Regions from separate parts of the Homo sapiens genome. Here region 1 is linked to region 2. The links are contacts of gene promoters, found by promoter capture Hi-C in human tissues and cell types (Jung and others, 2019). All regions are on one chromosome and are shown on one strand. Each heading gives the region's core, a stretch centred on a gene start or on the middle of the fragment in contact. The rest is flanking DNA. Distances are from core to core; before and after follow the strand shown. Region 1 holds the start of RBM5 (RNA binding motif protein 5). Region 2 holds the start of BSN (bassoon presynaptic cytomatrix protein).

Region 1 (7,383 bases), core at 3,001-5,500, 530 kb before region 2:
CGTGCCGGCCTTCTGGTTTTTTTTTTTTTTGAGACAGAGTCTCCCTCTGTCGTCCATGCTGGAGTGCAATGGCATGATCTCAGCTCACTGCAACCACTGCCTCCCAGGCTCAAGCAATTCTCGTACCTCAGCCTCCTGAGTAGCTGAGGTCGCACCACTGCACTCCAGCCTGGGTGACAAGACTAAAAAGCTGTCTCAAAAAAAAAAAAAAAAAAAAAAAAAAAAGATATATCAAGATGACCAAAACAACAACTTATATTTATTATTTTTCATTATTATTATTTTAAAGACAGGGTCTCCCTATGGTGCCCAGGCTGGCCTCTAACTCCTGGGCTCAAGGGATCCTCCTGCCTCGGCCTCCCAAATTGTTGGGATTACAGGTGTGAGCCACTGTGCCTGGCCAACAACTTATATTTATCATTCATTTCAAAACACAGAACTAATATGTTATCATAACCCCATTGTTTCATCTTTAAAATGGGAATAACACCTACCTTATCAGGTTGTACTGAGACCTAAATGAATTCATGAAGTCAAGTGCTCAAAAGTACATGGTGATCCCTATGTAAACCCTGGCCATTATTTCTTTTCTTTTTTTTTTTTTTTTGAGATGGAGTCTTGCTTTGTCACCCATGCTGGAGAGCACTGATACAATCTCAGCTCACTGCAACCTCCGCCTCCCAGGTTTCAAGTGATTCTCTTACCTCAGTCTCCCAAGTAGCTGGGATTACAGGCGCCCACCACCCCACTCAGCTAATTTTTGTATTTTTAGTAGAGACGGGTTTTACTATGTTGGCCAGACTGGTCTTAAACTCCTGACCTCAAGTGATCTGGCCGCCTTGGCCTCCCAAAGTGATAGGATTATGGGAAGGGGCCACTGGACCTGGCTGCCTGGCTGTTATTTCTATTACTATAAGGCTCAGAGTGTTTTGGGGGGTTATACAGCCGCTGGTCACTCACCTCTGGACTGTCATAGTCTCGGTAGTCATCATATCTATCACCCCTCCGATCATCACTAGATCTTTTGTAATCTGAGTCCCTCCGCCTGCTTCGGGATTCACGCTCATCACGGTCATCCCTGTCTATGATGGAACCGTATCTTCCACTACGCTCTGTTCTACTCACTCTGCCAGGGAAAATAATTTTCATTCTAAAGTCAGTCACATTTTGTACCTTTAAAAGACATAGTTAAAAATACACACGGCCCACAGATCAGTTTATAAGATAATCCAAATAGTTTAAAGTGTTAAAAAGTATTACCAAATTCCAGTTTACTAAGATAACCACTGGGAAAATACCTACATCCCTAAATGTAATGATAATTCTCAGGAATGTATGCTAAATCTGAAATAAACATTTGGGTTGAATATTTCTAAGAAAGAGTCATGTTGTCCAAGTTTATTTTTGCATTTTGTCAAGCCTAGAGTCTACATATTATCCCTTCATCCCTGATTCAGATCTTAGTGACCAAAAACAGGAAGAAAGCAGTTACTCGAATTTCACCCAATTTTAAAGGGTGAAATTAAGTACATCCCTGGCTCATCTACTCTCAAGGGTATCATGCCTACTGGAAAATGGACCAAAAACCTGGATGAACTAAGTTAGTCTTTTTTTTCCCCATCAGGCAACTTAGTTGTCTGTCAGATACAACTGGATAGTTACCCAAAACTAGCACCCCTTAAGAGAACACTCTTCTTATAACATCTGGTTTATTTTTGGCTAAAGGGCAGCACTGGGCTTCATGGGAAAACCTAATAACAAGAGGCTTAAACCTATTTGACCACAGATAAAATACACCTTTTGTAAACTGTTTACCAGATTCATAAAACTGCTGTGCAATCATAAGGCAAAGGAAAGGTTTATAAGGGCTTCATTTAGAATATACAAATTTAATAAAAAGAATCAAAGGAAATATGGGACTGAGACACCCCAAAGGGGTAAATGTTAATTTAGTAAGCTATTTAGAACCACAGACTGCTGACACAGCATTAAAATACCATGTGACATGAACATCTCCTAAGGTCCCTCAGCCTGTCAATGTGATCTACCACAGGGACTGACCTCAATACTAAAAAGGCAGATGGCTGAATAAGGGTGTGTGTTTAAATCAAATGGTCTGAGAGCATGTACCCATAGGTGACACAATAGCCAAATGCTCTCATCTTAATTTTCCACTAATTCTTTGGCTCTTTCTTTCTTCATGTAACACACAGTCCCAAGCTTCTCAGCTCTCTAAGTCTGGATCATCTTGCTATTCAGGGAACAATAACAAGAAATGGCATTCATTGATTGCTTACCACAGCCAGGAACTGTGCTAAGTGCCAGACTGTATGATCTCCTGGATTCTGCAAAGGTTGCTGTCCACACAGGGAACCTTCAGTGACCCACTCTACCCTGCCCTTCTTTGCCTAAAATTCTTTCTTATCCTTCAGCTTCCTTCCAGAGAATATTTTCTCCAGGAAGCTTTCCTGGCTGTGAACAAGAAAAAGACATACTTCCTATGTGTTCTAAGAGCACCCTACACTTTATCACAGCATGTTCACACAGTACTTTAATTCTCTCACTAGACTGTAGTTTGTGACAACAGGATCATAAAGGTGTTCGTTAGCAATGCCTGGCGCAAAACACTCATATATTAGTTTGATAAACTATTTTAAACAAGGAGTTCAGTCCCCACTGAAATGTTGAGATCAAAGCCACGTACTGTAGTAACTTACCTTTTGTCTGAACCCATTGTCCCACTGAAGATTTAGCACACAGCTCCAAAAGGTTCAAATTTTATTTTTTCTAGGAGACAAGAGAGATTAATTGCTATAAATCTCAGAGATCACTTAAGTCAGCAGCTCCATAGCTTGGATACTACTGAGGCTGGGATTTCATCAAACCTTCAAATCATTGACAGTGATTATCTAAGGTGGGGAAGTGGTGGGGACAAACTGTCAACGTTAAAATCGTGCTAACATTTTGTTAACAATGAGCAAAACCGGAAGATTAAGCATATTTTAAAATATTAGATTCCAGATTTAACAGAATCATAATACGGAGCAAGCAGAAGACTCCTTCCCTGCTCCTACCTTAGAATTACAAAGCAAAAAGGGCAGAGCTACAATCAGCTCCTTGGTTTTGTATCAAAGCAACTCCGTGGGATAGTTGACCGTTAAAACATTAATCCAAGTGTCTTCATTAATACAAGGAGCAACATGAAATTCAAACACTTCTGATGAAAAATGTAAAACCTCGTAGAAGCTGGGATACTGAGCTGACTGAAATCTACTACATTAATAACGTATCGCATAAGACAAGAGCAAAGCTAGAAACGACCTAATTCCTAGGTAACAATAACCACCACGTCTTGAGCCAGTTCTTATGACTACAAACCACTGAGTAGTGAACAGCCCGGCCCCCCGCCCCCCGTTGGTAATAAGACATCACACTGCTGGACCGCGTTCGATGAGCGCGAGGTCCGAAAAATCAGTTCCAGTAGTCTCTGGAAGCCTAGTCTAGAGCGAATGCTCAACGATTTGTTGAAATTAATAAATGAAAAAGAACCACTGGGGGGAAACAAGTCCCGGGGCATATTCACTGGTGCCGCCCCTTGTCTCCCGGGCGGTGCCGGCACCCACCTCCGTGGGGTCTCGCGGCCGAGATGGCGGCGTCACGGCCTGCTCGACCGACTCCAGCGTCCGGCCTGCCCTCCCCGCACATGCCCCTCCCGCCTCCCAAGAGGTTCCAAACCCGCAGATGGGCGATCACCGAACAGCTTTTCGGAGAGGGCGATTCAGTTGCAGTTGAGCGGGGGATGGCGGCCAGAGACTGCCAGGGAGCTCCCAAGGAGTGCCCGAGGGACAGGCGACGGCTCCACTGCTCCGTTGGGCTGAAGATTAGGGGACGTGTATCCACAAGGGGCAAAGTCACAGCCAGAAAGAAGCAGGCCCAAGGCTGAGCTGGCTGGACACCCTCTGGAAACTGACAGAGCTGGCAACAAGGAAGGGCGCGGCCCTCCAACGCCTGGGGTAATTTAGCCCCTCTACAGAACCGGCTGGAGCTGATCAGTCGCCTCCGGCAGCTGACAAGGGAGGCTTGGGGGCCAGCCCAAATGGCAAGAACCTACCGTCGTTACAGACAGCCGCCGCACTTACCCCAAGGAGAGACCGAAGCAGCAGTAGCGGTTCTGCGCCCCAGAACCTCCAACAAGGTTCGGCGGCTACACAAAATGGCGCCTCCGCCGACGGCCGTCTCCTACCCACAGTACCTCACGCTTATCCCCTCCCCCTGTCACCCGCCTCCTGCGGAGAAGTCCAATCCTCGAAGCGGCCTGGCTGTGCGAGGGCTGCCGGGAAATGTGGTCGCCAGACCATCCTGTCACTTAGGACGCTCTGTGTTAATGTCTTGCAATTCTCTTCTAAATCACTACAGAGTTGTCGATCGGCTTTTGCAGACCTGGATTAGTTTTTAGGGCTCCTATTAGGCATGTTAATAATTCTTTGCTTTTGCTACTAGCGCCGTAGAGAGTACAGTTTGCTTTCACTGGCACGGTGTAAAACATTGTCTAATTCTACTTCAAAAGGAGACCGTGCGTGAAGTGGTGGCTCACTCACAAGCCAGCATTTTGGGAGGCCGAGGCAGGAGGATCGCTTGAGGCCAGGAGTTCGAGACCAGCCTGGGAAACACAGTGAGATCCTATCTCTACAAAAAATAAAATTAACTGAGCATGGTGGCGTGCACCTCTTGTCCCAGCTACTCAGGAGCTGAGGTGAGAGGTTCGCTTGGGCCCAAGAGGTCGAGGCTGCAGTGAGCTGTGATCTCGTCACAGCACTCCAGCCTGGGGACAATGCGAGAAACTGTCGCTAAAAAATAAAAAGGAGGCCGGTGCTGGGCGCGGTGGCTCACTCCTGTAATCCCAGCACTTTGGGAGGCCAAGGCGGGCGGATCACAAGGTCAGGAGATCGAGACCATCCTGGCTAACACGGTGAAATCCCGTCTCTACTAAAAATACAAAAAAATTAGCTGGGCATGGTGGCGGGCGCCTGTAGTCCCAGCTACTTGGGCGGCTGAGGCAGGAGAATGGTGTGAACCCGGGAGGCGGAGCTTGCAGTGAGCCGAGATTGCGCCACTGCACTCCAGCCTGGGCAACAGAGTGAGACTCTGTTTCAAAAAAAAAAAAAAAAAAGGCTGGACGCAGTGGCTCACGCCTGTAATCCCAGCACTTTGGGAGGCCGAGGCAAGTGGATCACGAGGTCAGGAGCTCAAGACCAGCCTGACCAATATGGTGAAACCGCGTCTCTACTAAAAATACAAAAATTAGCCGGGCATGGTGGCATGCACCTGTAGTTCCAGCTACTAGGGAGGCTGAGGCAGGAGAATCACTTGAACCAGGGAGGCAGAGGTTGCAGTGAGCTGAGATCGTGCCACTGCACTCCAGCCTGGGTGACAGAGCAAGACTCAGTCTCAAAATAATAATAATAATAATAATAATAATAATAATAATAATAATAATAAATAAATAAATAAAAAGGAGGGGCCAGGCATGATGGCTCATGCCTGTAATCCAAGCACTGTGGGAGGCCGAGGCAGGTGGATCAGCTGAGCTCAGGAGTTCGAGACCAGCCTGGCCAACATGGCTAAACCCCGTCTCTACTAAAAATACAAAAATTAGCTGGGTGTGGTGGCGCACACCTATAATCCCAGCTACTTGGGAGGCTGAGGTAGGAGAATCGCTTGAACCCAAGAGGCGGAGGTTGCAGTGAGCCGAGATTGCTCTACCGCACTCCAGCTTGTGCAACACAGCAAGACTCTATCTCAAAAAAAAATAAAAATAAAAAATAAATTAAAATGAGGAACATTAGTTGATCGCTTTACTAGATGCTATATTATTGCCCTAGATGCTTTGCAAACATTTTTGTTTGTTTGTTTGTTTGAGATGGAGTTTTGCTCCTGTTGCCCAGGCTGGAGTGCAATGGCACAGTTTCAACTCACTGCAAACTCTGCCTCCCAGGTTCAAGTGATTCTCCTGCCTCAGCCTCCCAAACAGCTGGGATTACAGGCACCCGCCACCACACCCAGCTAATTTTTGTATTTTTAGTAGAGATGGGGTTTCACCATGTTGACCAGGCTGGTTTCGAACTCCTGACCTCAGGTGATCCACCTGCCTCAGCCTCCCAAAGTGCTAGGATTACAGGCATGAGCCACCGCACCCAGCCAGAACTGATTTTTCAGGTCATACAAATTGAAAACTGTGCCTATACCATTAGTTACAGAAAGTTATACATCAGTTACAGAAAACTGTGCCTATACCATTTTCTTCTCTCTCTGGAAAACAAATCTTTCAAGAATAAGTGGAGGGATGTCAGTGTATATATCTATATATAGGTATATACACAATACATATATAGACGAAAAGGTAGAAATATAATATATGTGGTGTGTGTGTATTTAGAGAGGAAATATATACAATTTATGGGGAAGCATATATGCAAAATATCAGAAAAGAGTACATGCATTAATGAAATTTAAAAGTTAACATTGATGACATCACTGCAAACCCTACAATGGATGATGCAGATGCCAAGAATCTAGAACTCACTAGACTTCATAGCCACTAGCCGTTGCCTGCCTTGTCCCCAAAGCAGTTCAACAAGCACCTTTGGATATTCCTGAGGTGCTTGCTGAGCTGGGCTTACCACCAGTCATAAAAGCTATATAGCTATTCACAAACCTCAAAATAATCTTTTTTTTTTTTGAGACGGGGTCTTACTCTGTCACCCAGGTTGGAGTGCAATGTCATGATCTCGGTTCATTGCAACCTCGACCTATCCAGGTCAAGAGATCCTCCCACCTCAGCCTCCTGAGTAGCTGAGACCACAGGTGTGCACCACCATGCCCAACTAATTTTTTGTATTTTTGGGGTAGAGATGGAGTTTCACCATGTTGCCCTGGCTGGTCTCGAACTCCTGAGTTCAAGCGATCCTCCTGCCTCAACCTCCCAAAGTGCTGGGATTACAAGCGTGAGCCACCATGCCCAGCCTGCAAAATAATTCTTAAACTTGAAGAGGTCCCTGGCAAAAAAAGATGGATTTCATCCATAGGTAAGTGCCATCCTCCAAATTATCTCTGGTAGCTGATCTTCTTTTAGACATTGGCCTGTTGAGCTCCAGAGCTCTGCTGCCAAAGGCCTGTCTGGTAGCTGATGTAAGAAAAAGAAAGACATCAGAGTGAGTTGCTCTTTGTTTTAAATAAAGCCACATATGTTCAATAAGGGATAGTCCTTTAAGATTGTCTTTTCTAGCCCTCTCCCTCTCCCTCTCCCCACGGTCTCCCTCTCTCTCTCTTTCCACGGTCTCCCTCTGATGCCGAGCCGAAGCTGGACAGTACTGCTGCCATCTC
Region 2 (7,731 bases), core at 1,340-3,839:
ATGCTGGAGCCACCCCCTCACAGAGTCCAACTCAGCTCAGTATGAGGATGAAAAGACTAATTCAGCCTGGGATGACAAGGTAATATGGCAATAGCATTTAACTCCCCCAGAATCATCTCCCTTTTACCTGGCCTTCTACCCACCTCTATGAGGTTTCTGACTGCCCCGAAATTCAAAATCTTACTGAAAGCAAATATGTCTTTGTGCTAATGCTCTTTCCTGAATGCCCAGAAGCACATTCACAGGGCTTTTTCCCCATCAATGGGCCAATCTGTTCAGCAGCATCTTAGAACATGCTAAATTTGGCATCAGGTATCTGAGATGCTCTAGTGAGAGGAAGTAGAAGCCATTGCAATACTAAAGGAGAGATAAGCCATGGAGCTGCTGCTCAGCTGAGGTGCTATGATAAAATGAATATCAGCTGGAGGAGTAAATCCCACCTCCTAATGGTCTCTGGTTCTGAGCTTTGGGGACAAATAGCCAGCTCACCTCCTGAGTCTGATAGTCACAGGACCTCAGCACCACAGGCTCAGGTATGAGCCTTGCCCACAGCCAGGTAAGAGATTGTGTGACTACTAAATCCATCAGGAGTCCGTGGTTCGCCTCACCCACAGCAGTTCATGGGTCTGCCTGCAGCAGAATGTACAGATGAAGTACAAATGAAACACTAAAAAGGCATATGAGCAATAGACATCAGCCTCCTTCCGGTCCCTCTGAGCTGCCCAGGTCTTTCCAGAATTTCATATGATTGGCTCTGCAACATCTGATAAACTACAAGCAGAGCAGCCTGTTTGGTTATCAGAAGAGAAATGACAAATTCCCCATACAGGGAACTCTCAATAACAAGGTGTTTTTCCATTCAGCTACAGAAGCTTTCCCTTGGAAGGAGAACACTAAAGCCTGGGTGAGCCTCCCTCAAGCTAAAACCCAAACAGCAACTCAACATGCAGCAAAATGGACAGTGTTTGCAGTGCTAAGAGCTGTGTGCTATCCAACTGCATTACTATTATAGCTAGTATAAAATGGACAAATCCCACCTCTAAAAAGGATGCTCACAGGCTGACCTGTCTGCCGCAGGTTTCAAGCTACTAACAGCCTTTCATTACTGTTAGTTGTCTAAGAAATGACTTCTGAGGAAATAAACACACAAGAGGCACAGTCGGGCAGCCAAAGAATAAAAAATTATGCGTCCTCAGTTTATGTGCTTCCACACAGAAAAGCCAGGGCAACATATATCAGCAGACCCACATGGAGCTGGAAGCACCTCCCTCCCACCCCCTGGGGGTTTTGCTACTCCCCAAGCCTATTTGGTGCAAAGATAATGCCTTCCATTTTATCGTGTCATCTCTTAGTAGTTTTCCTGAGTTTTCAGTCTACTGACTTATTATATATTGGCATTCCCTTACAGCCTTCATTGCCACTTGACTGTTTTTGCAGGACCTGGGTTGGCATACATTTAAAACAAACTGGTTTCACAGTATTTAATCAGATATGTTCTGTTTAAAGCATTCTGTGTGGGTTTCAGCTTTTCCACTGGTTTGATCTAAATCATAAGGTAACGAGAACATATCTGGTGCTGGATGACTCAATAGCATTTTTGCTTCACCCCAAAATGTTTCCCTAAACCTTGGTGAAAGCACATGATCCTATTAGTATTGTTGGGCCTAAATAAGCACCTCTTGGTGTCCAGTGGGCAATTTTCCTTTCCCCCAAAGGTGATTACAGCCACTAAATGCCCAAGGAAAGCCCAAGACCAAGTTCATGGTTCAACTATTTTCATCTCTCTGTTCCTCGCAGTGACACTTATCTTCCCTGACAGCCACTCCCATTGTGCTGTTTTCTCGGCCCAGCACAATGGACACATGCAGACACCAGCAGACAGGGAGGACGTTTTCCATCCCATTGCTCTCCTGTGCGGAGGGACCAGGTTAAGGTTACATAAGCCCCTCCTGAGCAGTCAGGCCCGAGCGTTGGGGAGAAGCGAATTTGGGGTTCGTGACGGAGTCACGGTCTGCAGGCCCCGACTGACCCTGCGCTCGTCATCCTGCCACGCCAAGGCGGGGCAGCTGGAAAGGAAGGGCCGCTTCCCGCGACCACCCAGTTCACGCCAATCCGGCAGGGTTCAGAGTGCGGCCGGACGTCGAACCTCGCTGTCCACACTAGATCGCGGGATCCTGGGCCCGGGTCCCGGCCTCAGGCTGCAGCTCACCGCCCCCCGGGCGCCGAGACACGCGCTTACCTGCCCGGGCCAGGGCCGGGACCGGGGCCGGGGCCGGGGCCAGGGACCGGTGGTACCGCGGTCGACCGCGCTGCTCCCGCCGCGGGGAGCTGTCCGCCACCGGCCGGTGCTGAAGGCGGCTTTCCTGCGCCGGGGCCGGGGCCGGGGCCCGGGCCGGGGCCGGCGCCGCCGGGCGGCAGCGGCCCGTCGCCAGCGCCGCCCTCCAGGCTGACCTCGTTGCCCATGGCGGGCAGGCGGGCGGGCGGGGTCGGGGTCGCGCTGCGCCCGGGCCGGCGGCTCCCGGGCGGTGCTCACACTCTCGGCGCCGCCGCTGCCGCCGCCATCTCCCAGCTCGGCTCGCGCCGCCGCCTGCCGCTGCGCATGCGCGTCTCGCGCCCCCTTCCCTGCACACGCCCCCCTTCCCCTGTGCGCGCTCCCGCCAGCCTCGGGGTCGCTGGGAAACAGCCGCCGGCGCCCGCGCATGCGCTGTCCAGGGCCGACGCGGTTGTATCATGCTGAGAAGGAGCCGGGCGGGGGCCGGCGGGGCTGCGAGGGCCCTGTGAGGAGGGGCACCTGCCACTAGAAGCGGCCTCTGGGACGTCGCGCTGAGCCCTGCTTTGGAGTCAGAGGGGCTTTCCGCCTCGGTGAACTCGAGAGTAGCAACTCTCCTCCGGGTAACCGGAGTGCCACAGCGGGCAGGCGTCATAAGGACAGGCCTCGGAGAGGAGAGGGGCTACCCGAGAATGGCCTCAAAAGTATGCATAGGAGTTGGGAAGGCAGAGGAACAAGTGTATTCAGAGACGCAAGGTCGTAGAGGGAAGGAGAGGGAGGGTGCTGGGTGGTCGGGCCGGATTGTGAGGGTCTTTAAGGCCAGCTGGGGAGTGGAGCCTTTATCCAGATGGCGATGGGAACCATCTGGGATTCACACTGAGGAACTGGGAGTCTCAGGAAGCGCCCCGGGCACAGATGGAAGGTGTGACAGGGCTGTGTGAAGCCAGCTGGGAGGCCACCTCAGTCAGCCCTGGGAGAGTGACCTTGGGGATGGAAAAGAGGACTTGATGGTTCTCAGGCCTGGAGCTGTCTCGATGCGGGGCCGCAGGTTGCCTCTGCATTACCCTGAGAGCTTTCCAAATTACTTCCCCGCTCCCTCACATTTACAGCCGGTTTCTGCCCGCTACTCAGGATTGTCTGCCGTGGTGGCTTCTCACACAAGCCTGTACTTTCCTGTGGGAGAATATTTCCTAGGAGCCTATATTCCAGTTCATCTCTGACGTCATAAATCATGACTGTGTAGAAAGGCGTGAGTAACTTGAACCCATTTTACAAACCCATTCAATTCTCCTAATGTTGCGAAATATATCACATAGGGTGTTAGCAGTTCTAACTGAACCTAGAATAATCCAGGGATCCCAGTGAATGCTGATAGCCAGCCTGCTGGACAGACCGGTGGCTGTGTCAGTTCTTGTGAGGAGGGGCCAGGACCCTCCCTGGGCCTTCCCCTGTGCACTCCGAGCTGCTCCTCCCGACCTCTGGGATGGAGCAAGTAAGAGAAAGAGGAAATGCAGAGCCCCCACTTCCTGATATTTTCTCCTGACTTCATACCTCCCGTTTTCACGCTAAACTGCCTGGCCCCTCTGGGATGACCTAGGATGAAGAGAGCCTCTCTTCCTGCAGATGATGGTCCTTGCTGTGTTTCCTCCTGTGCTGCAGGATGTTTGATACAGCTTCGTGAGTGGTGACTACATGTGCACATTTAGGCTCCAAAAGAGTCTGCACCTCAGCCCCGATAGGACCCTTGGCAACTGACTTAGGCTCACTGAGCCTCCATTTCCTATTCTGCAAAGTTAGAATCTTAGTAGCTCCTCGAATATGGGGGATTGTAAGGGTAGAGTGGCTGATGTAGATATTTTATTTTTTATTCATTTTATTTTTTTTATTTTTATTTTTTGGAGACAGACTCTCGCTCTGTCACCCAGGCTGGAGTACAGTGGTGTGATCTCGGCTCACTGCAACCTCCACCTCCCGGATTCAAATGATTCTCCTGCCTCAGCCTCCCTAGTAGCTGGGATTACAGGTGCCCACCACCACACCTGGCTAGTTTTTGTATTTTTAGTAGAGATGGGATTTCACCATGTTGGCCAGGTTGGTCTTGAACTCCTGACCTCTGGTGATCCTCCCACCTCGGCCTCCCAAAGTGCTGGGATTACAGGCATGAGTCAATGCACCCAGCCTGATGTAGGTAAAACACCAGGACAAGTGCCTGGTATACTTATGACAACTCTGTTATTAGTTGTCTCCCTGGTGATGGTCTGGGATGTGGCGGTCTTGTGCCATATATTTCCTCCTGGGGAAGAATATGCTCACAAACACTATGGGCAGGCCAGTGGCCTGACCTTGTCCCAACCCAGGCTGTTATAGCTTCACAGACCCCAGTCAGTGTGGGTTGGGCTACTTGAAACAGGGGAAAGGATGTTTATTTTTTTGTTTTTGTAGAAACCACAGGAGCTATGGCTTTCCACAGATTTAAATCAACATGCCTCTGGTTCCTGTGTGGTTAATTAGCTCTACCCAGCCTGCAGGCTTGGGGAGTTGCCCTCCTCAGAGTGGATTCCTGGCTGTTAGCAGACCTCCAGGGTCTTTGCTGCCCTGGTGACAAAGGGCACAGCACAGTGGACCCAGGAGACCTGAAAATGTGGGTTAGAGGTGCCCCTCCTCTCCTCTCAAACTCTCCCAGTTCTGTTTCCTTTGAGGAGCATCCCCAGGAACATGCCTGCCCTGTGTTCATTCACCCTTGACATTCAGCCCAGGGACTCTTGTGGACCATGGGATGGTATTGGCCTCTGGTTATCTGGGGCTCTGATTCAATCTCCCATTTCCATTCACTGTCCCAGAGGCTGTTTACCTCCTTTTGATCTAGACTGGGGCTCCTCAACAGCAGGACCTTGTCTGACTGGTCCTATCCCCTGGGCTGGCCTTCAGCAGGCCCTCTGGGGCTCATGGTTGTGCTGGCTTCTCCATGACGCTCTGAGCATTTCCCTCACCTGCGCTTCTAAAGGGCCCACCAATCACCAGGCTTAAAAGCACTCAGAGAGATCTTTGGCTTTAGCTGCTGAGCTAATAAGTAACAGGGAGAGTGCTGGGATTGCATCTGGTTTCTCCTCATGGAGGGGTTGTTGATGAGCTCTCTTCACTCATCCAGGAAAATTCACTAGGCTTGACTATGCTTTATGACAAATGAATAAACAAATCTTTCAGTTTATGCAAGCCAGCTGTGTGGTGTGTCAAGTATCATGTCCTCCTGGGTCCAACTGCTGCCCCACCAGGGACAGGATAGACCTAGAGACCCTGCAGGAGTTTCCCAGTCCCCTAAGCTTCACTTGCTGAAATATCTTCTTCCCACTTCAGCATAACATGTGACACATGGCAGCCATTTTGGAGATGGCCAGATGAGAGGACAATCAATCCACATGCCTAAATGGAACCAACAGACATGTGCCAGCTTGCTTCTCCAGCCTATGTTCTCAGACACTTGTAGAAGACCAGAGGGAAAATGGAATCAGAAAAAACAGCAACAACAACAAAAAGCCATCCAGGGCCATGCACAGTGGCTCACTCCTGTAATCCCAACAGTTTGGGAGGCCAAGGCAGGTGGATTGCTTGAGCTCAGCAGTTTAAGACCAGCCTGGGCAACATGGCGAAACCCTTTCTCTACTAAATACAAAAACTAGCTGGGTGTGGTGGCATGCACCTGTAGTCCCAGCTACTCGGGAGGCTGAGGTGGGAGGATCACCTGAGCCTGGGAGGTTGAAGCTGCAGTGAGCTGTGATGGTGCCACTGCACTCCCACCTGGGTGACAGAGCAAGACCCTGTCTCAAAAAAACAAAACTAAACAAAAAAATCCATGTGGGAAAAGGCCCAATCAGAGCCAACTCACTGCTGGGATTAGTAGAAATGATTAGTCACCAGAAGGCAAATCGTGGAAGAATGAAGAGATGACAGGACCTCAGGAACTACACCCAGAGGTGTAGTTGTGCCGTAGGCAAAGCATCATGCCGGTCATCCCCAAGAAAGGGAGAAGGGGTAGAGCTCAGACTCTTCCCTGCTTCCCCATAAGTCCAGTTTACCCTGGGCTGATCCTTTCAGCATGGCAGCCTCCGTGGGGAGGCACGAGATCCAAAGATGAAGATGTCTATGGGGGTGAAGAAGAATGGCAAACTTTGCAGGCAAGAGTAGGCATTAGAGAGATCAGAGGAGGAAGACAATAGAGAAGGATGACACAGGACAGGCTGTATCTAGAGGATATAATGCCATGGACTTTGGACTATTCCAGAGAGGCTGAGAGACCTGTCTCCTGCCTACAAGGCTCCTTGAACTCTGCACCCTTCTTTTTGCTAAAGTGCTGCTGAGGCCTGTCTCACTTCCCAATGAAAAGCAACTCAGGAAATTGGCTTCCTGCCCCACTCCTTCTTTGGGAGAGAGAAACAGAACTGAAGAGGAAGGAAGGAAGCCCAAAGAAACAGAGGCTTTCTTTCCTGGCTGAGATTTGTTGGCACTGCCCACTAACATAGAGAATAAGGTGGTTCCCTAAGCGAGCCTTAAGCTGGCATGAGGCTACAAACAAGTGATTGTATCTTCGTTCTGCTCAGCAGCCTACCTGGGCTGGCCTGGACAACCTCAATTGTATACTGAGGTCTTAAGCTGGCCATGGCCCTTGGTAAAGCAGGAGAAAGGAATAAGGCTGGAAGGTACAGAATTTGCTTGATGCCTTGCCTACATAATTCCTTTGCTGTTGCAACTGGCAACTCTTTGCTTGCATTATATGAAAAAAAGGCGGTAAAAAATTGTCAGAAATGTTTGCCACCAGCCTAACCCCACTGCCCATGCATTGCTCCCAAGAAAGCTAATTAAGGCCCATTGCTATTAGAGTTACATGATTCTGAAGGCTTGTTATGACAAGAAAAAATAATGAAGACATGGTTCCTCCAAGTCATAAGCATCCAAGTCAAAACATACTGCATCCCAGGCGAGTGTGGTGGCTCACGCCTGTAATCCCAGCACTTCGGGAGGCCAAGGCAGCCGGATCACGAGGTCAGGAGTTCGAGACCAGCCTTGCCAAGATGATGAAACCCCGTCTCTACTAAAAATACAAAAATTAGCCAGGCATGGTGGCGGGCGCCTGTACTCCCAGCTACTCAGGAAGCTGAGGCAGGAGAATCGCTTGAAACCGGGAGGCGGAGGTTGCAATGAGCCGAGATCACACCACTGCACTGTACCCTGGGCGTCAGAGCAAGACTCCATCTCAAAAAAAAAAGAAAAAAACATCCTGCATCCCTTGTTCCTTTGTGTTCCCCTAGACAAGCCTCTGGGCTGGCTTTGCCTATCTCATGCATGCAGGCAGTCATCCTCCTTTGGCCAGTGCATACCTGACTCCTACTCAGTGCCAGGCCTGGAGAAGACTGTGAGACCTGCCCTTGAGGAGTTCTGTTTGCAGGAAGAGAGTGATAGGCACACAA

What was found. Contacts are between HindIII fragments. The study calls those that stand out against the background at their distance.
Region 1: the fragment with the promoter of RBM5 here is called in contact with the fragment with the promoter of BSN in region 2 in 1 of the 25 tissues and cell types used here (bladder).

The regions. Positions count from the first base shown.
Region 1 is chr3:50,085,786-50,093,168 of GRCh38, reverse strand. RBM5 (RNA binding motif protein 5) reads right to left here and starts at 4,250. Exons shown (of 25, transcript NM_005778.4): 1 at 4,140-4,250; 2 at 2,718-2,787; 3 at 961-1,126. The coding sequence starts at 2,734. RefSeq lists enhancers at 3,211-3,801, 3,963-4,072, 4,113-4,282, 3,802-4,393. The HindIII fragment of the contact is 21,518 bases long and covers 1-7,383 here.
Region 2 is chr3:49,549,335-49,557,065 of GRCh38, reverse strand. It overlaps BSN (bassoon presynaptic cytomatrix protein), which reads right to left and starts at 2,589. Exons shown (of 12, transcript NM_003458.4): 1 at 2,240-2,589. The coding sequence starts at 2,463. BSN-DT (BSN divergent transcript) reads left to right here and starts at 2,700. Exons shown (of 3, transcript NR_038866.1): 1 at 2,700-3,025; 2 at 3,379-3,518; 3 at 5,624-7,731. RefSeq lists silencers at 2,202-2,411, 2,482-2,781. The HindIII fragment of the contact is 7,009 bases long and covers 1-6,899 here.